Regions from separate parts of the Homo sapiens genome. Here regions 2, 3, 4, 5 and 6 are each linked to region 1. The links are contacts of gene promoters, found by promoter capture Hi-C in human tissues and cell types (Jung and others, 2019). All regions are on one chromosome and are shown on one strand. The core of a region is centred on a gene start or on the middle of the fragment in contact, and the rest is flanking DNA. Distances in the headings are between cores, read along the strand shown. Region 1 holds the start of ONECUT1 (one cut homeobox 1). Region 2 has its middle 140 kb from the start of LINC02490. Region 3 overlaps MYO5A (myosin VA). Region 4 overlaps LOC107983981 (a long non-coding RNA gene). Region 5 overlaps LOC107983981 (a long non-coding RNA gene). Region 6 overlaps LOC107983981 (a long non-coding RNA gene).

What was found. Contacts are between HindIII fragments. The study calls those that stand out against the background at their distance.
Region 2: a fragment that was not itself captured here is called in contact with the fragment with the promoter of ONECUT1 in region 1 in 1 of the 25 tissues and cell types used here (H1 embryonic stem cells).
Region 3: a fragment that was not itself captured here is called in contact with the fragment with the promoter of ONECUT1 in region 1 in 1 of the 25 tissues and cell types used here (thymus).
Region 4: a fragment that was not itself captured here is called in contact with the fragment with the promoter of ONECUT1 in region 1 in 2 of the 25 tissues and cell types used here (dorsolateral prefrontal cortex and lymphoblastoid cells).
Region 5: a contact is called between a fragment that was not itself captured here and the fragment with the promoter of ONECUT1 in region 1, in 3 of the 25 tissues and cell types used here (H1 embryonic stem cells, dorsolateral prefrontal cortex and mesenchymal stem cells).
Region 6: a fragment that was not itself captured here is called in contact with the fragment with the promoter of ONECUT1 in region 1 in 2 of the 25 tissues and cell types used here (dorsolateral prefrontal cortex and mesendoderm cells).

The regions. Positions count from the first base shown.
Region 1 is chr15:52,788,327-52,792,397 of GRCh38, reverse strand. ONECUT1 (one cut homeobox 1) reads left to right here and starts at 2,062. Exons shown (of 2, transcript NM_004498.4): 1 at 2,062-3,618. The coding sequence starts at 2,514. It overlaps LOC105370824 (a long non-coding RNA gene), which reads right to left and starts at 1,968. Exons shown (of 2, transcript XR_001751550.2): 1 at 1-1,968. RefSeq lists enhancers at 239-1,006, 1,007-1,775, 1,772-2,066 and a silencer at 1,955-2,024. The HindIII fragment of the contact is 12,558 bases long and covers 1-4,071 here.
Region 2 is chr15:53,258,539-53,262,609 of GRCh38, reverse strand. No RefSeq gene overlaps it. Among named protein-coding and RNA genes, the nearest start is that of LINC02490, 140 kb to the right of the region's middle. The HindIII fragment of the contact is 4,957 bases long and covers 1-4,071 here.
Region 3 is chr15:52,334,651-52,338,721 of GRCh38, reverse strand. MYO5A (myosin VA) reads left to right here. Exons shown (of 42, transcript NM_001382347.1): 33 at 838-912; 34 at 2,166-2,259. Among named protein-coding and RNA genes, the nearest start is that of MYO5C, 41 kb to the right of the region's middle. RefSeq lists an enhancer at 1-481. The HindIII fragment of the contact is 5,720 bases long and covers 1-4,071 here.
Region 4 is chr15:53,214,836-53,218,906 of GRCh38, reverse strand. All of the region lies in intron 5 of LOC107983981 (a long non-coding RNA gene), which reads right to left. Among named protein-coding and RNA genes, the nearest start is that of LINC02490, 100 kb to the right of the region's middle. The HindIII fragment of the contact is 5,942 bases long and covers 1-4,071 here.
Region 5 is chr15:53,130,177-53,134,247 of GRCh38, reverse strand. All of the region lies in intron 4 of LOC107983981 (a long non-coding RNA gene), which reads right to left. Among named protein-coding and RNA genes, the nearest start is that of LINC02490, 16 kb to the right of the region's middle. The HindIII fragment of the contact is 3,905 bases long and covers 189-4,071 here.
Region 6 is chr15:53,102,456-53,106,526 of GRCh38, reverse strand. All of the region lies in intron 4 of LOC107983981 (a long non-coding RNA gene), which reads right to left. It overlaps LOC105370823 (a long non-coding RNA gene), which reads right to left. Exons shown (of 4, transcript XR_932261.3): 4 at 2,669-2,990. Among named protein-coding and RNA genes, the nearest start is that of LINC02490, 12 kb to the left of the region's middle. The HindIII fragment of the contact is 3,019 bases long and covers 226-3,244 here.

The sequences.
Region 1 (4,071 bases), core at 813-3,312:
GCTGTAGGAAATGAGAATGGAAACAATTAAAAACCAAAGATGCAGCTTTCCACCAAGGTACTGTAATATACTAGGCAGGAAATATATGTTTTGTGCTTGTGTGTATGCGTGTATGAATAGGTAGATATAGATACAAGTTTAAAGAGTTAATCGTGTTTTCTGAGTTCCTTTACATCAGTGTATTTTCCCTAAAATATCTTTTCTTCTCTGGGGGTTCCTAAATTCCTAACTGTTCATTATGAAAGTAGACATGAAATCCATTGAGATGAATTATTTGCAGGGCCTCCATATGCATTGTTTGGACAGGATGGGAGTGCCTCTGGTGATAAAACCAGCTAGATTAACCAGTCCCAGGACATGGCCGCCTTCAAGGAAGTCACGTTGACTGTATCCACTGAACTTGACCTACCTGGATTAGGATGTTGCCCTGGTGGTAGCAGGGACCTGGGCAAAGAGATAGGCCTACTCATGCCTGGGCCGGTGGGAACTTTTCCCAAAGGGTTGGCCAGCCCAAACTTTTGCCTTGGAAACCCAACTACCACCACTACCACAGCCTTGGCCTCTCTAAGGGCTTGGGAGCATTTGCAGTGGAAACACCACGGGTGGGCTGCAGTTCGGTGCCCCAGCAAGCAAACCTACAGTCTGAGTCTGGCCCAGCACAGGCTACACACACTTTATTCCATATCTGAGTCCAGATACCCCGGCTCTGAGAGGCTATTCTCATTGTAACCACCGCTTGCCTGGGGCTGAGGCTCGGCGCTGACCCGGCCATAACTGCCACGGGCTGGACAATGGGCACATCTGTCCTTTCTCTGAGGGATGAAAGCACCTAAGCGGACACGGCTCTGCCTTTTGTTGCGGATTTTTTTTCTTTCTTTTGTAAATGAAAGAAAGCCGCGGCATGTGGCGGCCGGGTGTACGTCTCAAACTGGGGGCCTCCGCACACGTCCCCACCAGGCCCAAAGACCAGGTTCGATTCCAGATTGGAGCGTGACTGTGGGAAGGGCGAAATTACTCCCGAAGCTGAATTGATTTTCAAATCTGGAGGCGTCTCTCGGGGACGCCGGGAAAAGGGCGTCCCTAGGGGCCAAGCGGAGACCCGCGCGCCGGCGTCCACCCTGTCTGCGTCAGTACTTCTGGAAAGCAACCGCCTCCGGGTGCTTTAGCAGGAGGGCCTTGGGAGTAACCGCAGGGACGGCCCGAGCCTCCACGGCCCCACCAGCACCCGGAAGTTAACATGGGTACCCTCCAGGGCACTCCCTCCGCTCTCCCTCGCCCCCCTCCACAGGCCGAGTCATCGGCGAAGCGGACGCACAGCCTTAATTATGAGCTGAGCGGGAGAAGGAGCCAGGCGGCGGGGGACAGTGAGGTATGGCCCGAACTGGGATTCTTGGCACTGATTACTCCTCTCCCCAGGGCATGGATGAGAAAGGGTGGGCAAGTATGTATCTGGGAGGACGAAGGGTGCCGGGTCAACGGCCGCCAAACGGACCCAGCCCTTTAAGCAATCTGCACCCCACCCCACCCCAACCCCCATCCCCCAATAGGCCGTGAATTCAAGGGTGGGAAAGCGCACTCCCAGCAGCCCCCCGGGAAATAAAGCTTAGTGGGCTAGAGCCGAAGGGGTGATGACACAGTCCCCAGCTCCCCGGGCAAGCTGCACCGGGAAGCAGCAACTGGAGAGAGAGGGGCGATGTCTCCAAGCACAGCACTCCAGCCGCTAGAAGCCCGACACGAGCGTCCCCGGGCTGGGAGGACAGAGCCCACTCAAGCAAGGGAGGCGAGCGAGCCAGGCGCGAGTCTCCTGGGATTGCAGCGGCGGCCCCAGGTCGCGCTCTGCGCCAATCTTTCGCACGTGCCCGCAGCTCCCTGGCCATCCAGCGCCGCAGGGAAGGCGCTGGGCCCCCTCCTTCATTTGTACCGGGACGCCAAGGGCCTGGCGCGCCGCGACCTAGGGGGCGGGGGCGGGCCTCGCGCATGCGCGCTGCGCCTGGCGGGCGTGAGGGCGGGCCGCTGCGGCGGCGGCGGCGGCGGCTACCGAACCGCGGCCACAGAGTCTGTAACAGTAACAGAGCCATGGCTCAAGCTGGCCAGCGGGGCGGGCAGGCAGCAGACGCGGCAGGCGCGCGGGCCGCGGCAGGGGAGCCGGAGACCTCAGAATTTTAAGAAAGAGAGGGGCGAGAGGTGGCCGAGGCGGGCGGGCTGGGGCACTGCGCTCTCCCAACGGCGCGGATCCTCTTTGGAAATTAATATTAAAAAAAAAAAAGCCGAGGACGCAGAGGGGAAGGTGGGGGGTAAGAGGGAAGGCGAGACACACACACACACACACACGCACACGCACACACGGACACACACACACGGAGAGAGAGAGAGAGAGAGACAGAGCCCCACAGTGAGAGGAAGGAAGGCAACAGTCGCCAGCAGCCGATGTGAAGACCGGACTCCGTGCGCCCCTCGCCGCCTCTGCCTGGCCACATCGATGTTGTGTCCGCCGCCTGCTCGCCCGGATCACGATGAACGCGCAGCTGACCATGGAAGCGATCGGCGAGCTGCACGGGGTGAGCCATGAGCCGGTGCCCGCCCCTGCCGACCTGCTGGGCGGCAGCCCCCACGCGCGCAGCTCCGTGGCGCACCGCGGCAGCCACCTGCCCCCCGCGCACCCGCGCTCCATGGGCATGGCGTCCCTGCTGGACGGCGGCAGCGGCGGCGGAGATTACCACCACCACCACCGGGCCCCTGAGCACAGCCTGGCCGGCCCCCTGCATCCCACCATGACCATGGCCTGCGAGACTCCCCCAGGTATGAGCATGCCCACCACCTACACCACCTTGACCCCTCTGCAGCCGCTGCCTCCCATCTCCACAGTCTCGGACAAGTTCCCCCACCATCACCACCACCACCATCACCACCACCACCCGCACCACCACCAGCGCCTGGCGGGCAACGTGAGCGGTAGCTTCACGCTCATGCGGGATGAGCGCGGGCTGGCCTCCATGAATAACCTCTATACCCCCTACCACAAGGACGTGGCCGGCATGGGCCAGAGCCTCTCGCCCCTCTCCAGCTCCGGTCTGGGCAGCATCCACAACTCCCAGCAAGGGCTCCCCCACTATGCCCACCCGGGGGCCGCCATGCCCACCGACAAGATGCTCACCCCCAACGGCTTCGAAGCCCACCACCCGGCCATGCTCGGCCGCCACGGGGAGCAGCACCTCACGCCCACCTCGGCCGGCATGGTGCCCATCAACGGCCTTCCTCCGCACCATCCCCACGCCCACCTGAACGCCCAGGGCCACGGGCAACTCCTGGGCACAGCCCGGGAGCCCAACCCTTCGGTGACCGGCGCGCAGGTCAGCAATGGAAGTAATTCAGGGCAGATGGAAGAGATCAATACCAAAGAGGTGGCGCAGCGTATCACCACCGAGCTCAAGCGCTACAGCATCCCACAGGCCATCTTCGCGCAGAGGGTGCTCTGCCGCTCCCAGGGGACCCTCTCGGACCTGCTGCGCAACCCCAAACCCTGGAGCAAACTCAAATCCGGCCGGGAGACCTTCCGGAGGATGTGGAAGTGGCTGCAGGAGCCGGAGTTCCAGCGCATGTCCGCGCTCCGCTTAGCAGGTGAGCCGGCCAAGGAGCTGGGCGCGCGGGAGATAAGGTACACGAAAGCCGAAGGGACCAAAGGAGGAAGGGTAGGAGAGAGGGCTGGGTGCGCTTCATCCCGCCCGCCCCTACCCCTAGAAGGGGGACTCCCTGTGCCTGGAAGGGCCAGCACAGGGCTGTGGGAGCAAATTGCCTACTCCAGGGCTCAGGGTGTTGGGCTGTGGAAGGCTCCGAGAGCTAAGCGGCCGGGCCTCGGCGACTGAAGAGGCTCATTTGCGCTCAGGGACAGCGAGGGAAGCTCGTACGGCCTGAGGCGGAGAGAAATCCCCGCACCTGGTGAGACACTCTGCGCCACCTCTCAGTTCAGCGATCCGGGTTTGGGAAGAGGGATGCAACGCGTGCGTGGAATCGCACGCAAATGTTCCTCGCAGGTACCTCTGACACATCCCAGGCGCTGGGCTGGAGCGTGCC
Region 2 (4,071 bases), core at 743-3,242, 470 kb before region 1:
TGAGAGGTCATTTCTGCAGGCACTGTTTCTGGTAGAGATTTCACAGTGCAAATCTGCATGATCATTTGATAGCAGGCCATCTCTGTTTCTACAGCTTGGTCTCCAGTCAATGCCCAGTGAAAAGTCCACAAAAGAAACAAATAGTAACTTTAATTTATTAAAAGGAGAGCCCATATGACATTTTGATAGACTGTTCAGCAAACTAATATGTCTGTTGTTTAAAGTCCATGAGAGACTTTTGGGTAGAACACACTTTCTGATGACCCAAGGTGTTGATTCTTGAAGAGTTCATTGCTATGAGCATTTCAGAAAGATCGGAGTCCAGTAATCATAATAGGATTTAAACCATCGTCTTAGTAAATCATCCTTCCACTAAAGTACACCCTTCCTGCTTGAAAAGGCTCCAGTGAGTTACAACCAGGATTACCAGGCTTGCACTGATGAAAAGACTACAGTCTATGAAATGTGAGATAATTATATCGAAGAGATGTAGGAAACAGTCTTCCTATAGGCCAGTAGAGTGGCTGCCTCATCTCTAATTATTATACCACGAGCAACTGAGCATACTAACCTGCCTGCCTTCAGTCATTGACTGTGTTTAAAACAATTGGAAAGTTACAATAAGGCTGAAATGTCATAAATTCTTGAGTGTTGTCTTCTACAGTTCATCCGCTATACTTTCTAGTTGACCTAGTCAGATGTTTGAATAGTTTATTTTCTGGTAAATTTTTATCAAACTAAAAACTAGAAGAACAAAGCCAGAGTCAAGATGCCGGTGCCTAAATAAGACACAGCATCTACAGAAGGCCTGTTGTCCTTTAAAAGTATGATGCCTAAACCCCATCATGGAATCTACATGTTTATGCCCATTTGCTTTTGACAACTGATCGTTAGTGTTGGCATTTATTTGAAAAAGAGTTTGGAGTTTGAAGAGAGTGCAAGAAAGTTTTCAGTTCAACCTTACAGAAGTTAAAAGAAACACATTTGGGGTTACTAGGGAGAAAATTTCCAAGAAGTCAGTGAAAAACGCTGAGAAATCCATGTTATGAACCCTGATGTGTTTTGGTCTGCTCTGGAATGAAGTTTTCATTGGCAGTTGGAAAAACGTCCACTTGCACATGAAGTATTTTCGTCCTTAACCTCACTGAGCCAAGTAGATGGATGAATGTTTGCAAACATTCCTTTCCATGTTACTCTTTATCTAGGGGTACCCAACATTGGAAGCACAAGGTGTGTATGAATGTATGATTGGAGGAAGATCTTTACTGAGTAGGACCATGGAAAACCCCACTGGCTCCAAGCTTTTTAGACTGAGGTACACATTAGAAGAGTCCTCTCTCCCCAGCTACCACCTATACCAGTCTGCTTCTCCTACTCCAGCCATCATGACCTCTCACCCAGGCACAAACCCTTCAATCCTAGGAGAGTCTCTCCAACCCTGTCCTCTGGAATTACATTGCTAGTACATTCTAGGATAGCAAATATAATCTAGTTACCATAATAATGGTGTTTGTAAAGAGTTAAAGATGTAAACGTACTCTTTCAGGGATATATCTCTTCTATTTATGAAGGGGTGCTTCTCCTTGCAAGTTTCCAATATTATTTTAAGGCATATTAAATTTTATCACTAAATCAACTAGAAATAAAATGTGTAATTGGTAGCAGAATTTCAGGCTGTGATAGAATTCCCAAAGGATTCCAATGTCCTTTCAAAAATTAAATACAGTAATGGAAGATAAACTGTGTAAAATGCCAGCACTTTTCTTCCCCATAACCTGTGTTTATGTACTAAGTCAAGAGGTCCTACTGCCAATCATATCTAGGAAAGAAATAGTACAGAGAGTGCTTTTGATATCACTCATGCATTTATTAGATCCCCTGTTTTTCCGATTTTGAGTTTGATGTGAATTCACTGCACATACATACCTACATAAAATATACCTATCTTCACTCATTATGATGTAAGTAAAGTGTTGGTAAACCAGGAAATACTGGATAGATTAAAACATAAAATTATTAATTTCATGAAATATGAAATAGTACATTTAATAAATAGTACATTTGATGCATTTTGCAACTAGGTCTGAGGTAATATGTGTATCTCACATTTCTTTACTTTGAAAAATGACCAAAAACCTTATTTGATATGAATATTTTATTTTTTTCCTAAAATACATTTCTAATGTGCTCTCATTTCGGTGTTCCAATATGATGGGGGGAATTTTTTACTTCTCTTTTTTTTTCAAAGGACTATAATTTAAACCTCCCCTGCCCAGTTTCAGAGAAATATTTATGGCTGGATTTTAAATGTCTGAACAAAGACCTTTAAAAGGAAATTTCTACTGCAAAAAAAAATCCATTGATACCAGAGCATAAATACCAGTATTATGATAATGAGAAGAGTGTTCGATTTCCAAGAAAGACCAATATAGTAACTACTCTTCCCTCCCATGAAAATGTTGACAGAGGTAAATATGGGATAATTCCAAATCTAAACCTCAAGATAAATTAATTTCTTTATTCATGTAAACAAAATGATTGGGCAAAAAGCAACTGTTTCAGTGCAGGAAATGTTTTCCTCCAGAAATCGGGAAAGCACAGAGAAAATCTAGAATTTTGTTATACACATGAACATTTTCAAAAATATCATAAAGGACAATTCCCTTGGGACACTGGGCCCAGGATTTGACAATCTCCCTGACAGCTACCTGGTAGGAAAATGAGGTTGACCTCCATGATGTCAACTTCCTAAGATATTATTTCTACTCTATGTATCACAAATTTCCTTAAGAACGAGCTTGAAAAAAAAAAAAAGCAGCTCCAATTCTAACCTCTGTGGTTATGCCCATATATCTTGAAAGCTATTTATTAGTTTCACACATATACCATTCTTAAGGTCCATAGATTTGCTACCCACTGAAGAAAGTAGCATGTCTTTTATGTGCCCAACATGACTTTTGTAAGGCTTCACAGGGCTTTCATAGTTTCAGTGACACTTAAACCTAAGCACTCAGCTCAAACGTTTCTTGAAACAGATTATTTTCCTACACAGACTGGAAGCATGTTGTGTTCTTCGTAAATTTAGAGTTCCTCCTCACCCAGTCCCATATTTTCCAGAATTACCTCTCAGACAGTTTTCTCTCCAGTACACACACCCAACACATACAACACTCATATGTGTACTCTGAAAAGTTCCATTCTTCATTGAAATAGGGGCCAGGACAAGGGAAAGAGCTAACATGCGTTGTCCATCTTCTAGGTGCTAAGCATAATGCCAAGTGCATTATGTATCCTATGTCATTTTATGCTCACAACGGTACTATAGAGTGGGAATAGGGATTCTTAGCGCTACTTCCAAGTTATGAAGCAAAGGCTTGAGCACTTCATCCAAATTCCACAGCTATAGGTAAATGAAGCCAGGATAGAAACCTAGGCCTGTTGAATATTCAATTTCTCCACAGGACCACTAACTTTAAGGAGAGGAAAACAGAAAGTCTCCCTCCTTGACCTCTTTTCTACTATGCCTTCTTCTTCCTGCCTCTTCAGAAGCACTGTCATATGCAACCACTTTCTTGAAGAGCCTTAATAACTTTTTATATAAACTTGCTTTTTGTAATGTCAACTTTTCAGCCATGTAATATCAATCCTCTCAAATTTTTTATTTGATAGTGACTCCTGTGAATCCTTTGATCATGTCTTAGTCCAATTCTACTATTATTCAGACCCTTTCTGTTATTAATATATAGTCCAAGAAAGTTCACGCTCAGATCCAATTTAAAGCTCAAATCTACATATACCAGAACTGTGGCTCCAAGAAGATGGAGGAGAGAAATGGGTTGTCTATCAAGGCCCAATCTTCCTCCCTGAGGCTCCAACCCTGTGCTGGAGCAGGCAGAAGAGTGGGAGAGGCAGAAATCTCTGGTTCCCAGGGCCAGGACCAAGGGGGCACAAGTGCAAGCACTTGTCCAGTCCTGGGAGTGAGCCTCTCCTGGAATGTTGTACCCTGGGCCCTCCCTTGCTGCAGTCTCATCCCAGCTCTGCTCAGGTTGTTTCCATTTGAGGCTGGGGGCC
Region 3 (4,071 bases), core at 772-3,271, 450 kb after region 1:
AAATAGACTAAGCCCCTATATTCTAAGCTAATAGAGCCCAGTTAATGAATTTGAGTTTGGGGAAAACCTTTTGTAGGTCAGCTGCTTCTCCTGCCATCACACTGACTACTAATTCAGGAGGATGGATTCAAACATAAGTACAGGAAATGATAGACTTTTTCAAAATCATTGTTTTCTCAATCTTAATTGTGCATTTCTATAAGAAACACTTGAGTAGGATATTAAAGCCCAGCAGGAGACCTGGGCTTAGTGCTCTTGAAACTCTACCTTGCCCACCTACCTACCACCAACACAAAACACAAAAATGATTTTTCTACCTCATCTAGTGAACAGGCTTCACAGGCCTCCCCCGTGCTGTCTTTCAGCGAAGGAAGATGCACAGCTTCCCACCAGCCTCTCCAGCTTCACAAGCTAACATTGCTATTATTCTCACTTTTATTATATTTACCTCCCCTATTCTTGCCACTGCTGCTGGCGGCAAAAAAAAAAAAAAAAAAGTGCAGCAAGTTGTGAGCATCATGTGTTGGGGAGGCTGGGAGTAAAAAGGCAGGAGGTTGGAGGAGGGAAATGACAGCCTTATCTGGGCCTGCTAAGTGATGGCATCCTGGCCACAGCCTCTTTCCTTTGTTCACACAAGAAACATCTGTACATATGTAATTAGAATAATCTATACTAGAAAGATAAAAGGGTAATGGAAGGTGACAAATCAGAGCCTTTCAAGTATATATAGTTTCACTATTTGTATTTTAAAATATTTTAAAATTGATTTTGCTGAAAGATAGCATTTCCCTCAAACACACAGACAAAAACAAATATCCATTGTGCCTGTTTTTTCAGTATTTTGAGGAATTATATGCAGATGACCCTAAGAAGTATCAATCATATCGGATTTCCCTTTACAAACGGATGATTGTATGTAAAACCATAGTGCTTTTCTGCTGTCTTCCCTTGCTACTTATAGCCCTCTGTAACTGAAGAGCACACTGCTGCCTGCCCCCTCCCAGGAAGTCTCTTCAAAATTTTCACGAAACCTGTTTCTCCCCACAGCTGTCTTTTAGCCAGTGGTGTCACCTCTGTCAGTGTCCTGAGTCCATTGTCACGTTTGGTTTGTTATTAACACTAGGCTTACAGTGTGATGGAAGCAAAATGTGATTTGAAAGGTCACGTAAAATCCAAGAAGTACAACTTAACACTTTGAAGAGATAGCAACTGTTCCCTTTAATGGTTGGCCTAGTAGCTAAATCTACTCCTGTCTAAACTGGAAAATGAATATTTGTATTTGGAATGCCTTTCTTCTCCATAACCTGAATAACAGACCACACACATTGCTGACTCATAGCCCTTCTAAGCTGTTACTGAGCCTACTGTTGTCCACTTTCTTTTTGATTGAGTTTTTAACCATGTCTGTCATTTGAGCAAATTCTTTATTAAATAGCCAATAATCATGGACTTTTTTTTACCTTCCTCCTTAAGTGTACTGCTTTTGTTTCTGTTTTTGCATAAAGCATTCATAAATACCCCTTTCTTCTGTATAAGCAAAATTATATCACCTGCAAGATTTTATAGATGCCTTATGCCACTTGCCACTTTGGTCCTAGGTAAGCAGACCACTCTTTATCCTGTTCTTTGTGATTATTTTTTTCAACTTATCTTTTAATTCCCAAAACTTCTGAACTATTCTTAAGTTTCAGGGCTAATTTTAGAATTTCATAGGGTGGCTCTCATAGAGACAGTGCTTCACACATGGGGAGTGTCAGTTCCTACCTAAGTTCAACCATTCTTTCCACAAACCTTTTTGTGCATTCATCAAAATTTATTTTTGCCTAGTCAGTCCTCCTTTAAAAGAAAGCATTCTACTGGAATACCAATACATTCTACAAAGCATTCAGTTGATTTTCCCACATGGAGTCTACTGGAAAGACTCTGCAGTGAGCCTGCTGTCCATCACGCTGTAAAGGAGTTTACTGCGTTGTATATTTTAACATATGGCTTTTATTGTAGCTGCATTTCCCATGCCTGCCAATTTTAGCCAGGTGGTGGCTCCACCAATGAGCTCTTATGTAAAACTAACGTGTTGTTTCTGTGATATTGTGTCTATTTTCCTTTGATGCATTTTAGAAGGCCTGTTTCGATTTTTCTAATATATTTCTCTTTTTGATCTTTAGGATTTGATGGAACAACTTGAAAAACAGGATAAGACGGTCCGTAAACTGAAAAAACAACTGAAAGTATTTGCCAAAAAAATTGGCGAACTAGAAGGTATTTAAACCTTTTTTTCAAGACGGTCACTGAGTCTTGGTTTGAGTCTTGGCTTAAAGACTAGGCTATATAAGTGGCCTAATAGAGGTTTGCATGCAAATATTAGGGATAATAACAAAATATGACTTTTGGCAAACCTAACCTCTTTTGAGTAGAAATTTACATTTTTAAATGAGGAAAAATGTTCTTTTCATGGGTAGTAATAATTTACAGATTTTACTCTGTAAGCATCTAATGAATATCTTCTATATGCCAGACAATGTGCTAGGCAGTATAGCATAGGAGTTAAGAATGTGGATTCTGGAGTCAAGCTTCTTGGGTTCAAATCTTAGCTCTTCTACTTATTAATCATATGATATTGGGCAAGTTTCTGAACCTCTGTATGCCTGTGCTTTCCCATCTGTTAAATTAGAAAGATAATAGCATCTATCTGACATGGTTTATAAGGATTGAATGAGCTATTAGGTTGGTCCAAAGGCAATTACTTTTAATGGCAGGAACTGCAAATGCCTTTGCATCAACCTAATAAGTATATTACACTTAGAAAAGTTACTGACGCATAGTAAAAATGCTTCATGCGACTTAGTTATTAGTCACTATCATTATTCTTAGTATTAGGGATACTAAGATGAGTATGATAGAGTCTGTCCTCAAAGAACTTACAGTCTAATGGAGGAAAAATAGAGAAGTAAAAAAGAAAAATATGAATTATGATGATAAAGAAATAAGATTTTTAAAAACATCTCATGATTTCTATATGATGATGATGAAAAAATTCCTTGAGAAATAACCAAATATCAGTTGTTGTTATTATTTATATACAAATGGATCTTATCTTTTCTATTAGTGTGTTTATGTGTTTATTTGTTAAGAGTTATAGGTACAGGGATCTAGCAGTGAACAAGGCTAAAGCCAAACTCCTTTTTTTTTTTTTTTTTTTTTTTTTGGAGACAGAGTCTTGCTCTGTCGCTGAGGCTGGAGTGCAGTGGTGCAATCTCGGCTCACTGCAACCTCTGCTTCCCGGGTTCAAGCAATTCTCCTGCCTCAGCCTCCTGAGTAGCTGGGATTACAGGTGCATGCCACCATGTCCAGCTAATTTTTGTATTTTTAGTAGAGACGGGGTTTCACCATGTTGGCCAGGCTGATCTCGAACTCCTGAGCTCGTGATCCATCTGCCTCAGCCTCCCAAAGTGCTGGGTATAGGCGTGAGCCACCGCTTCCAGCCTAAAGCCAAATTTTAAGCTTATTTCAATGTTCTCACTGCTTAAGGGATTTTGAGACAGTCTTTGGAATAGCCTTCAAACCTGTGTGAACGGTTAATCATTTTCTCTCATTGTCATTCTGCATCTAATTCTTGCTTGGTTCAAACAGTGAAGATTCCCCATCACTGAGGATGTTCAAAAGAATCTATCATGATTAACTCCAAGTGTGGTTTTCATTCCTCCAACATGCCAGGTCTTGTCATAACTGCTCCTTCTGTTTGGTCATCCTGCTTCTCCTGGTTAAGTCCTGCTCAGCCTTTGAGACCAGAGTCATATGTCACATCCTCAAGAGTAGCCTTTCCTGATTACCCAGACAGACGTTATGGTTCTGCTCTCTGTGTACCACAATTTGGCCGACATCTTTTATGGTCTTCACTATGTCATATTTTTAGCAATTTTTCTGTTTGAATTACTGGCTTCCATAATAGACTCTGAGCTTCCTGAGCATAGAAAACATCTCTGTTTCCCTTTGCTTTCACAGCACCTAGCATAGTGTCTGACCTATCTCATAATCATTCCATAAATGTTTGTTGAGTGAATGAGTAAGTTT
Region 4 (4,071 bases), core at 948-3,447, 430 kb before region 1:
CTCAGCTCTTACAAGCTCTGCGCTGTCAGAATCCTGCTGGCTGCCACAGCATCATTTCTCAACGCTTCCTCTTTCCCCACCCTCCACTGTACACTCCAGTCAACACTGTATTTCCTTCAGCTCCTCAAATATGCCATACTCCCTGTTCTGAACCATACACAGGCAGTCCTTCTTCCTGGAAGACCCTTCATTCCCACTCTGCCGGGGTAAGTCCTACTCATCAACTACACATCACTTCCTTTGGGCAGACTTCCTTGATCCTTTCCCAGTGCTTCTTCCTTGCGCTTCCATAGTACCCTGACCTTCCTCCACAGCAGCCCTTACAGCACTGCATTGCCCGTTTACTTATCTGTTTCCCCCATTAAGAGTGTAAAATCTATGAGGTTAGAGACCATGTTTATCTTTTGACTATTATATCTCTTAGTAGGAAACATTTGGATTTCCTGGAATCCCCTTTACCATCCCTGGTTTCTCTTCTCTGCCTTCCATATGCTTCTGTTTCTAACAGACTGTGTCTGCAACCCTCTTTGGAGGGCTTGAGTTTATGTTCACCCTTCACCCATGGGACAGCCCTTAGCCAATGACTGATTGGTACTGGAGTACGAAAGTCCAGATCCCTTTTCCATAGGTGGGAACAAATACTGCAGCATAACTTATTTTCCAGCGATCCCCTTCAAGATCAGCTTCAAGCCACCCTCTATGGGTCTTTGCCTGAAATGGCACCCTTGCTTGTCTTCTTCTCCCTTGCTGTTTCCACTGTTCTGTTACAGGTTTCTCCTGGAGGCATTCCTTTACAAATCACTCTCACACAAATCCTTGTCTCAGGGTCTACTTCTGGCAATCTCAACCTAAGCTATGCCCTGAAAAACTAATATAGTATCTGATACAGAGTAGAATCCAGTAACTGTCTGTAAATTAATCAATCACTTATGATAGAATCCAACAAAGTAGCAAGTATATTTATTCCCATCTTATGTATGAGGAAACTGAAGCTAAGGGTAAGTAGAGTAAGCTCTAACCCACACAGCTGGCACTTGGAGATCCAGGAACCAATTCCAGGCACATATATGGCTCCAAACTAAACTTTTCAACAGCACTATGTTCCACCCAGCACTAGTTCGATGTTTTCGGAAATGGCAGAAGGCACCATAACCCTTGGGTATCTACTAGTTCTAAATTCCCTTCTAGTGGTAGCTTCTCCTAGAACCAACATTCACTCAAAAACAGAACCTTCACAGCCCTGGGAAGATATACTGCTTCAATGTGATTTACCAGATGACATTTCTGGAGTTCAATCTTGTTATCAACTATCAGGAAATCTTCAAAGTGTCAAAGCCAAATAAAGATCTATTCCCTAACACAGGCAAGAGGAGGAAAATTTGCAGAAGTGTCCCATGCTATCAGGCATTGCCAAGGAGAAGGAGATAAAAAGTAATAGCCTAATTTTCGTTAAGTGATTGCTCTCATAAAGTAAAAGAGAACTTGTCCTTACCAGGACATTAACCCTGCGTTGCTCAGACAATTAAGGGAAGTCATAAATTAATCCATAATCATGATCCGAAAAGAAAATTTATCTTAGCACAGAGGGTAAGAAAAGAAGAAAATTGTCTTGGAGAGGATACTTCATCTGTTCTATTTTGCAAGACAAGCCATAACCCTCATGCTTTTATGCTTACAACTCTCTTTCTTTTATCCACACCATCCCATCTTATCTTCATCCCTCTTTTTCTCTCTCTGCTTCCCTCTCATCTTTACCTTAATAGCCCCTACCTCAAATCCTTGATCTCAAGATTTAAAAATGAAAACAGTGAATATTCTTTCACAGAAGCTGAAAGAGTATTTTTTTTGGTTTTTAGATTGCTTTAATCTGAAACGTTATTCAAAAAGCTTATCTTTTCACTAAAGACTATAGAGATCCTTCAGAACTGGATGTAAATGAAACTTAGGGAATGAAAACATCAAGATGGTTAAGGGATTGTGACTTGTTATCTTTGACTTTATTGTTGTTTCTCTTATTATTATTAATGATCATATTTAAGCAATAGATATGTGTTTGGAGAGAGAACAAAAGGAGGGAAGGAGGCAGAGGTGAGAATGTACTGACCACCTATGCTGTTCTATACACTGTAAATATATCTTATTGAGTCTTAATCAGAAATTTCTCAGATAGGTATTTTTATCCCCATTTTACAGATGTTGAAACTGAGCATGAAATCTTATTTCTCTTGCAAAGCCAGGATTTAGTTCCACCTCTATTTGTCTCCAAAGACCAGGCTTTGGGCTTTGAGATGAGGAATGACCAAGGAGAAGAGATGGATGATGGACGTAAGAGGCTTAAAAAACACTTACATAAAGCTCCTGTTGTTTTATAGTCCTCTAGTAAATAATAAGTTTGAAAGTGAGATCACTTTTGATTCTCCTTTGGCAGATGATTTTTTTTAACTGAGTTTGGAAGGGAAGAAGATGAGGATAATGGGACAAGGAGTCAGGGCCTTGGAGCAAGAAGAGATGTCTAATATTTTCGGATATGATTCTTCTTTATCATTCTTCCCATCAATCACACAGTCTGCATGCATTGCCTTGAGGGAAGGATGACATAGCGTAAGGAAGATTGTTTTTGGTATTTGAGATTCAAAAGCCAAGCCCTAAGGGAACAATAAGAATTCATGTGAGCATAGATAAGAAATTTAGAAGAATATGAGATAGTAAGTAAGCTTTTGTTCCTAGACGGAATCCTATAGAATAGCAGGAGGAGAGTGGACAGGGTAAGTTACAGAAGTTTGAGAAACTGCCAAGACAGGAGTGGAGCCCACACCCAGAGCCTGCTGTGTGTGTGGGCAGCACTGTCTTCCAACTTACTGCCCAGAGCCTCTAATATCTCCACTCCCAGATCCTCCACAGGGCAAGAGCAGGCAGAATCCTGGAGAGTGAATGATGCAGAAGACTAGCAGTGAGAAAGGGCAAGATGAGAAATAGGGTTAGAATCAGAGGAGGCTCGGTGGCCTGCATTCCTTCTTGTCATCAGTTTATCTGCTCTCTTTAGGGTCACTACAAAACAGACATATACAGAGCGCCAGCAAAATTTTCCAAAGCCAAACTCAATTTTTCAAAAATAAATGAAATTCATGTTGAATTTGTTGCTTCTGGTGTTTTTAAACCAACCTAAACCAACCACTTACAAAGTAGGATAGCTTTACAAAGAGGGCAAGGTGACTTTATAAAGTGTTTCTAGCTTCCTGGCTTCCCATAAAACTGCAGAAAATACAAAGCGTCTCTACAGAGCTTTAGAGAAATTCTCAGTGGAAGATTTGATATTAAATTTCTTCACCGAGTCAACCTACTTGGATTTCTCTTTCATAAGATCCTAATGTTTGAGTTTATTTGGGTTGTGTGTTATTCTTAAATAGTAGCCATCACTTGTTTATAAGCATATAAAAGGCATGTCTCCCCACTTTTTGACAAATATCAAACGAATAGAAAAACTGAAAGAAGAAGAGGGCATGGTATGCCCTTTACTTGTGCTTGTGTGGCCTAATAAAATAACACACCCATAATATTTTAGCAGAGATATTATAATGATCTTAGCATATTGCCTGACATGTTAGTGACTGATTATTACTTCTGGCATTTAGGTAGACTGGTTACCAACAGTATCTGGAGTATATAAAAATATCATGAAATACACAAATGGCATCTTGATGAAAGCATTATCAATATGCCTCAAAAATTGATAGTTCACCCTAAAAATCTACTTCTATAACAACATATGCATAAAGTTATTTATTACAGCATTATGGTAACTTCAAAATATTGGAATTAACCTGTAAACCTCTCACTAGATTTTGGTTGAATAAACCATGGTGCATCTACACAATAGCATATTATATAACCATCCAAAAGGATGAGAATGATCTCTATAAATTGATATGAATATATTATTTGTTAAAAAAGCAAAGCACAGAAGAGTGCATGTATAGTATACTATAACTTTCTATATATAAAAAGACAAACTATGGAAATATCTATATCTATCAATTACCTATCTATCTACTCTTATAGATACACAGGGAG
Region 5 (4,071 bases), core at 892-3,391, 340 kb before region 1:
TAGCCATTCTAATTCTGAGCCTCTTTGACTATTCCAGAAATTCCATTTTCTTTCTGAACCAAAATCTGTCTCCCAGGGTCCCACTCAGGAGTCTCTGCACAGCTCTTTGTAGCTGTAAGAATAAGGGTGACCTTTCTTCCTCCAGCTCAGCCTGCCAGCAGTCTTTGGACAATTCACACAGCCCCTTGAGTCTTTTTCTTCTCCAGGAGGATCACCCTCCCAACCTTGCCTCTACCTGCCCCTTTGAGCCCATGATGTCATGGCAATGTTAGTCTCCTTCCACCTAGCATATTCCAGTAATTTCTGCCAGAACACCAGTCCCATTTAAAAGTCCCAGGAAAACATGAACAACTAAGATCAACAATTTTCTCTGATCCAAAATGGCTGAAAAATAAGTCCTTTCCACTGCTTTACTGACAAATCGAACCCTACAAGGGAGAGGAAGGACTGCAAGAAATGGTAATGCCAAGTGAATGAGGATTTTTTTAAAGAGTCTTGAATCCTAAGGGCTTGTCTTGTTCTTTTAACTAGAAAGTTTGAGTCTTGATCCATTAATCCAGAGCTAATAAATGTCTGGTGGCAATTTGCCAGTTTGAACTCACAAGTGCGAGCTTATTCATTATGAGGAAGTAGCGATCTCTGTGGGGAAATGCTTGCAAACAGGATTAGCGAAGCAAAGGGAGGGCAAAGCCTTTGGTGAAAAATGTGCCCATTGCTAATCAATGGCCAACAGCTTCTTGCTGCAACGAGTTGCAAAAAGCAATCGTAGCTCAGTGATTTTTTGTGTGTGTTCATTTGCCAAAGCAAGAAGTGAACTTTGTGGACTGGCTGAGTCAGGATTTCCAAAACTCTTTCATGGGAGTGTTCCTGACACCAATAGCCAGTAAGCTTGAGTCTCTGGAGGTTCAGAAACAAAATTTAAAAGCTCAAAATGTAGTCAAAGCCTCCTGTTTATTCTTTAATATTCATGTAAATTTAGCATCTTATTCCACAATATCCATTTGCTTTCATATAAAAAGCATAGGTTTCCCCCTATTTCCATGCAATTCCTTGAGCCCCAGCCCACAGACCAGTTCCCTCCAGAGCTTCATGTGCTCCACTTTGAGAGAAAGGGACTGGCTTCACTCTAAGTGGTGTCTCAATGATCACATCAGTGGTGGTTTCTTACTCAGATCTATAGGCTTATTGATTCCAGAAGGAATTACACCAGCAGGTACTGCACTGTAAAGTCTCAGTATCAAAGACAGACAGTTTGGATCCTGGATTACATTCATGTATCTTGGGACCTGAGGCTGTTTAATTTCTCCAAGGCTCAGTTTCCTCATCTGCATGGAGCTATCTACTTCATAGGCTGTGATGAGGATTAGGTCAGGTCAGGTGTGTAAAGTGATCAGCACCATAGGTGCAACATAAATGTTTCTTATCATTATACTGGTGGTATTGCCAGACACCTGGAAGGTTCCTGCCTTTGTGTGGTAAAGAGAATCATGGAAATGGAGTCTGAAGTCCTGTGTCTTCATTCTTGATTCTGCCATTAGTTAGCAATATAGTCTGAAATGAATGCTTTTAAGCTAAAATCTACCTTCTTCTTCTTCTAAAATACACAGTTTTCCAATGGTTAACTATTTAAGGGACTTTAGTGCATAGAAGAAACAAGGAAACAGTATGAATAAACCTACAGTCTGAGCTTTTTCTCCCTCTACAGCAACATAGAACAATAATAATAAATGACATTATTGAGCCCACCACACGCCAGGCATTAGCTACATGCTTTACCTGCAATCCTCTGTCTAACTCTCATAAACTATATAGTAAGAGAATAAGAAACTTGCCCAGATTGATAAAGCTGAGAGTTGAACCAAGTCTGACTAACTCCAGGACCTGAGCACTTAACCATTATGCCCTGCTAACCTACCCTCCAAATGAGCCAAAGACCTGCCTATCTACTAATTCAGAGGGAAAGGAACCTATTTGGGAATTCTCTCTAGAGGCCCTTTAAGATTCCTGGCTGCTCCTAGCTACAGTTGACCAAGCACAGGCTGAGGCTGATTGCAGATTTAGTAACTAGTGATGTCAGAGAAGGGGTAGCACTGAAGTTCTAGGCCCACCCTTCCTTCTGAGGGGCCAACAGGTCTAAGATGCTGTGGGGTTAGAGTTACAATGACTAGGATTTGAATTCCAGCTTAACTGACAATCAGCTCTATGATCCTCTGCAAGTTACTTAATCTCTCTGAGAGGACACATAAAGTTTTATCATAAATAAAATAAAATTATAATCTCTACATTGCAAAGATTGCTGGGAAGAATAACAGAGATTGTATAAAGTGTCTAACAGAGAATGTGGCTAATAATTAGAGCTATTATAATTCATTATCATTTTTATAAAGGCAAAAATCTTTCAAAAAGGAAACCAAAATACATTTTCAGAAGTCACATTATATAAAATGTAAAATCTCAAATACCCTGTTATGTCTCTCTAGAACATTAAGCAAATACGAGCAATTGTCAAATAATTCACAAGTGATCTCTCTCTAAAAGATTTTACCTCTTTCTAAACAAAAGCTTCCTTGAAGTGGCTAAATTCTGACAGAGAGCAGAAATCTATGTGAGTTAGCAGACCAATCTCCTGGGAGCATTAAAATGATTCTTGAATAATTTTCAAGCCTAATTCTATTTGCACTTTCCACTTTTCTAAAACCAAATCAAAATTCATTGGCAAACAAAGAGCATCTTGCGAGGATCTCATGATTTCTCATGTGAAATTTCATCATGCATAGCAAGCAGCAAAGGAAGGTGGGTTTAAAAGACACATGTTCAAATTCCTGATGATTTGTCTGTTCCTGCTGAGAAAGATGGACCAAGGAGAGTCAATCATCAGGCCTCATGGATTTGAGCCCATAAGCTCCTAATTGACCGGCATGTATTTAATCGGGAAGAATCGCTATAGAATTCCTGAAGACAAAAGGAAGGGGGTATGAACCCCACTTGGAGTACAGGACAATGTGCTGGTTCCTGCTCCCTCAGGGGGCAGTATTCATGGCTGAATCCTGAAAGTCAGGAAGAAGGACTAATTCAAGGACAACCCCATGGGGTTCCTAGTCTGTGCTCTCCTCCTCCCATGCAGCCTGACAGTGTTGCACCATAGTTTCCTGGCAGAGCCAGAAGAGTGGGGAAGAAGTTGGGAGGGAGGTGGAGGTGGCACTCAGGTGGCTATACTGATCCTGACAGCAGCTACCATGCCTAGTGGTCCTACCTGATTGAAGCTTTGGGTATCCCATGCTAGAGAAGGCCTCTACTGTTATTAGTCAATTAGCCAATTTAACCAAAACAAGGACTAGACTGGTACTTCTCAAGGACTTGTATCCACTTACCAATACACATTGCTCCTAGAAAGCTGATGTAGAAGGTGCTATAGGTATACAGAAATTAAGAGCTCAGACTCCAGAGCCAGGCCACTTCTCTGCTGGGCCACCTAAGACAAGTTACTTAACCATTCTGCCTTACTTTCTCCATCATGAAAGGTGGAACAAACAATCATAGTATCCATCTCATGGGGTTGTGATGACAACTAAGTGAGTGACTACATGTAAGGTAGACCAATGCCTCACACATAGTAAGTGCTCAATACACATTATTATTCTAAACCACGCACCCGTTTGTCATATAGTTACACAGCTTGCTTAGAGCTCCCTAATTGCTTTCAGGTTCTCATTCAAATTTCATGACAACCCAGAGAGGCCTGGCAGGAACCATTATCCCCACTTTACAGATGGAAAACCTATGGCTCAAAGAACTTATATGATTTATCCAAGGCCAAGATTATGAACCTCATAATTATAAGAGGGGGCAACTGAAACCAGGGGTTTGGGTTTCAAGTTTACATATAACACAGCTTACGTAGAATTTTGGCTAAAATGTTTAATTAAATTGAAACAAATACTTCCATTTTAACCCTGCATCCCCCTATGTATCCAGCTGGAGATCATTCACCCGACGTGTAGGCTCACAGGGCAGCACGGGGTTTTTAGCACTCAGCTGATCAGGGCACCTTGTCAGGTAGCAGGCCATTCC
Region 6 (4,071 bases), core at 486-2,985, 310 kb before region 1:
AGAATTTCAGACCCCATTGTTAGTCAACAGGAATGCAGACTGGACATCCTTCCGCTCCAACATCACAGGACGTTGCCTGTTTTACTATGTGCAGGGGAGGGTTAACTGTAACAGCTAACAGTGCCAGGGGCTGTTCTAAGCACTCGACATGTATTAGTTTTCTAATTTTCATAATGACTCTACAAGATAGGCCCTGTCTTTGCATTTTACAGTAGAAGTGATTGCTCAGGGTTCCACAGCTTGTAAATCTGGGCCAGAAATGTGAACCCTGCGCATCTGGCTCCCAACCCCAGAATCTTACTCATTACCCAACAGCTGCCTCTCACAGACTGTCACACCATAAGGGGCTCCTTCTTGATATTTGTAGCTAGTTTCTAGCAGGATAACAACTGGGAAGCTGCCCTGATTTGGACCCTCCTGTAGTAACTTTTTTTTTAAATTTTGTCAATCACCTAGTTCAGAGATTACTGATTACCTCAATGTCTGTTGCTCTGAACATTCCAAGAACCACAAAAAGAATTTGTTAAGCAGGTTGGAAACAATACCTAGGAGCACTGCACTGTCTCTTCAAAGATCCTCTCTCAGACCCAAGCCTCAGGCTCACCACCTTCTAGGCAAGCTCTACCCTGTTGGTTATCTTATCATAATCTTCAAGAAATCCTGCTAAGAAGTCTCAGGTGTCCATGGTGTCCCTGGTCACACTGGCCAGCCTGGCCTCATGTTCCATACTGGGCACCCTCTAGCCATTAGCAATCTGAAGGGAGCTAGGAATTATGCCCATGTTTTCTGTAAGAAATGTATGAATGTGGCTGTTAAACGATTATCTTCAGGGAAAGAGAAACAAATATATTTATCTAATAGAACTGGTTCTTAAATTTCAGTGACCATTGGAACCACCTGAGGCACTTATTAGAATCACAGACCCACCTCACTTCCATCCCCTCCTAGAAAATTCTGACTTGATAGGGCCCAGGGATTCACATTGTTAAAAGACAGTCCACTGACGTTACTTCCAGGACAGCTGCTCTGTCGTTTATCCTGATTTCCATTTCAGCACTTGCCCCTGACTACTGAGTCTGTGTCCCTGGGCTCAGAACAGACTAAAATACACACACACATGTATACACACACACACACACACACACACACACACACACACACACACACGCACAAAATAAAAAAAAATAAAAAAAAAAATTTTGAAACTCTTACTTGTTCTTAACACATTATCTACTTCAAACCTCCAAGGCCAGAGAGGGTAAGTGATTCTCTCAAGTAGATCTTAAACCATATCTTTCATGTTTTACTTCTTTCCTCTAACACATACTACCTCCCTTCTCTAAGGTATTCTGAATAAGGAATAATAAAACATGTATTTTTGCATATATAAAGATAACATTTATTGAAAAGTTAGAAAATTCTGTAAAAGCCTGGCCACACTTTTACAGGATCAAAAGAATCACAGATTTTTAAAATAAATATATAATCCAGAGGTAATAAAAGTATCTATTTGGTGTCTTAACATTAGCCATCCTGATTCCTATGCTAATTTCTTACCTTGTGTAGGAGGACACTAAAAAAAAAAAAAAATCTGTATGTGCCTCAGTTTATCTTTCATCAATACAATACACAGGAGCATTGTAATCTAAAGATTATAATCAGCATTCAAAAAACTCAAAATAGAAACATATTTTCACCTTCAACAAATAATTATGTATGAAAATCAAAAGTTTTCAGGAAAGGTCATTGAAGTGATTCTTTTTTCTCATTACAAAAATATTAACCACAACTCCTTGAAGAAGCTTCCCTAAAGTATGTCAAGTATGATGTATCTTATGGAAACGTTTCTTTAAAGCAGCCATTCCCAAGGTTGTATTTTATATTATGGCTAAGTGGAAAGCAAATGTATTCCTCTTGGCAATTTTAGCAAAAAAAAAAAAAAAAAAAAAAAAAAAAAAACAAGTCACAGAGGTTATCATTATGTAACATCAAATACTTGGATAAAAACTAGAGAAATTCAGCCATGTATCCAAATAGTTGGTATAAACTATACTAACATGTAATAGTTAAAAGGAATTTGCTAATTCATTTGTTTCATTTAGATTGAAGCAGCAATAACTAACATGCTTATCATGAACAAAGCACAGTGCTAGAAAATTTGGTATTGGGCATATGCAGCAATTAAAGGCCAACCAAGTGTCAAACATTTCTAGGTTTGGTACATAGATGGGGAAGGAAGAAAACGGGAGTAGAAAAATTTGTACCTAGAAACTATTATGGTACCAGAACTAGAAATACATAATTAATGCTTAAGAATTACAATGATGAGAACTATATCAAATGACTGAAGGAGAGACCAATGCATTACTAAATAAAGAATTTTCTAGTTTGTTTTTATTTTTATTTTGTTGTTGTTGTTGTTGTTGTTGTTGTTGTTTTGTAAGATGGAGTTTAGCTCTTGTCACCCATGCTGGAGGGGAATGGCGTGATCTCGGCTCACTGCAATTTTCGCCTCCTGGGCTCAAGCCATTCTCCTGCCTCAGCATCTTGAGTAGCTGGGATTACAGGTGCCCATCACCACGCCCATCTAATTTTTGTATTTTTAGTACAGACGGGGTTTCACCATGTTGGTCAGGCTAGTCTCAAATTCCTGACCTCAGGGGATCCACCCCCCTCAGCCTCCCAAGGTGCTGAGATTACACGCGTGAGCCACCACGCCCAGCCCAATTTTCTAGTTACCATTGCTTTGCAGACAAAATGCAGATAGGCCCATCCAGGAGTTTAGAATCTCTCAATAGGTCTCAAAGCCTTCTTAGCTCATTGCTTACCAATCTCCTGCATAGCCTCCTTGTCCTAATTCTTCCATCACCTTCCCCCTTCATCATCCTCCTCATTCATCCATTTATCATTCAGTCCCTGTAAGAGATCTTAATGTTTGGAAGAAACCAGCTTTGTAAAGGAAGAGTAGAAATCCCCTGTGTAGGGCAATGCTGTCAGTTAAAAACAAAACAGATTTCATTATTTAAAAAACAATCAAAGTTTTAAAGTTGTTTCAATAAAGTTATAAATTATGACCATTATAATCACTGGGATTTTTATTTTGCTGTGTCTCTTGACCTCAAAAAAAAGTTTTAAGGAAGATAAGATTTATTTGGTCAAAACATTTGACATTTACTTCATTACTCAGTGCACTAAATTCTCTCTAAATAAATTCCATAGTGATCTGACTTTCCCCATGAAAATCTGCACAGTGAACTCCTAGTTTATTATGCCTACTTGAAAAGGGTAATTTAATAAGGCATCAGTACAAATACTTAATCGTGAATGGCTATCGACAATGCCTTTAAACAGTTGCATATTTGCCAGATTTAGCTAATGGAAGTAGAATTGCCACTTAATGTCTCAGCTTGCACTGGTGGAAAATAAATTGTATCTGACATTCCTTTGGCTTTTAAAGGACATACTTAGATAATATTTACAGTCAAATTGATCTATTGTTGCATTTATGTTTTCTTGGGTTTAAAAAAGGGATCAAATGGGTTCTAAAGGATAATATTTCTTTGCATCTGCTCAGTTTGGAATGCTTTTGCACAGACATGCCTCATTTAGTGGGTGTCTAACCAAGGTCTAAATATCTGAATGGGAAGTAGACATTTCAACCAGGCATACAGTTGTTTTAGCTCCATCTCAGAGACTCGGGTGTGTGGAAGATCAGCTGGTCAGTGAGCAGTGAGCAGGGCTGTTCACTTTTCATGGAGGTCATATAGACAGAACTTGCTTTATTAAGCCACCTGCTACATGCTGTGACCAGGAAGAAGAAAGAGGTCATAGAAGAGAACCAATATTTCAACATCCAATACTTGCCAGGCACTCTTCCAAGTATACTATGTTACCTCATTCACTCCTGAAAACAAAACAATGAGTTATAGTATTATTATCTTAGTATTTTTCTTTAGGCTTCTATTTCTGTGAAACTCAAAAGCAGGCAAGTCGTATCATTATTGATGGTGTTAAAAATCAGGAGCATGTTTACCTTAGAAGGTGGTAACTGGAAGCTAGCACAGGGGACTG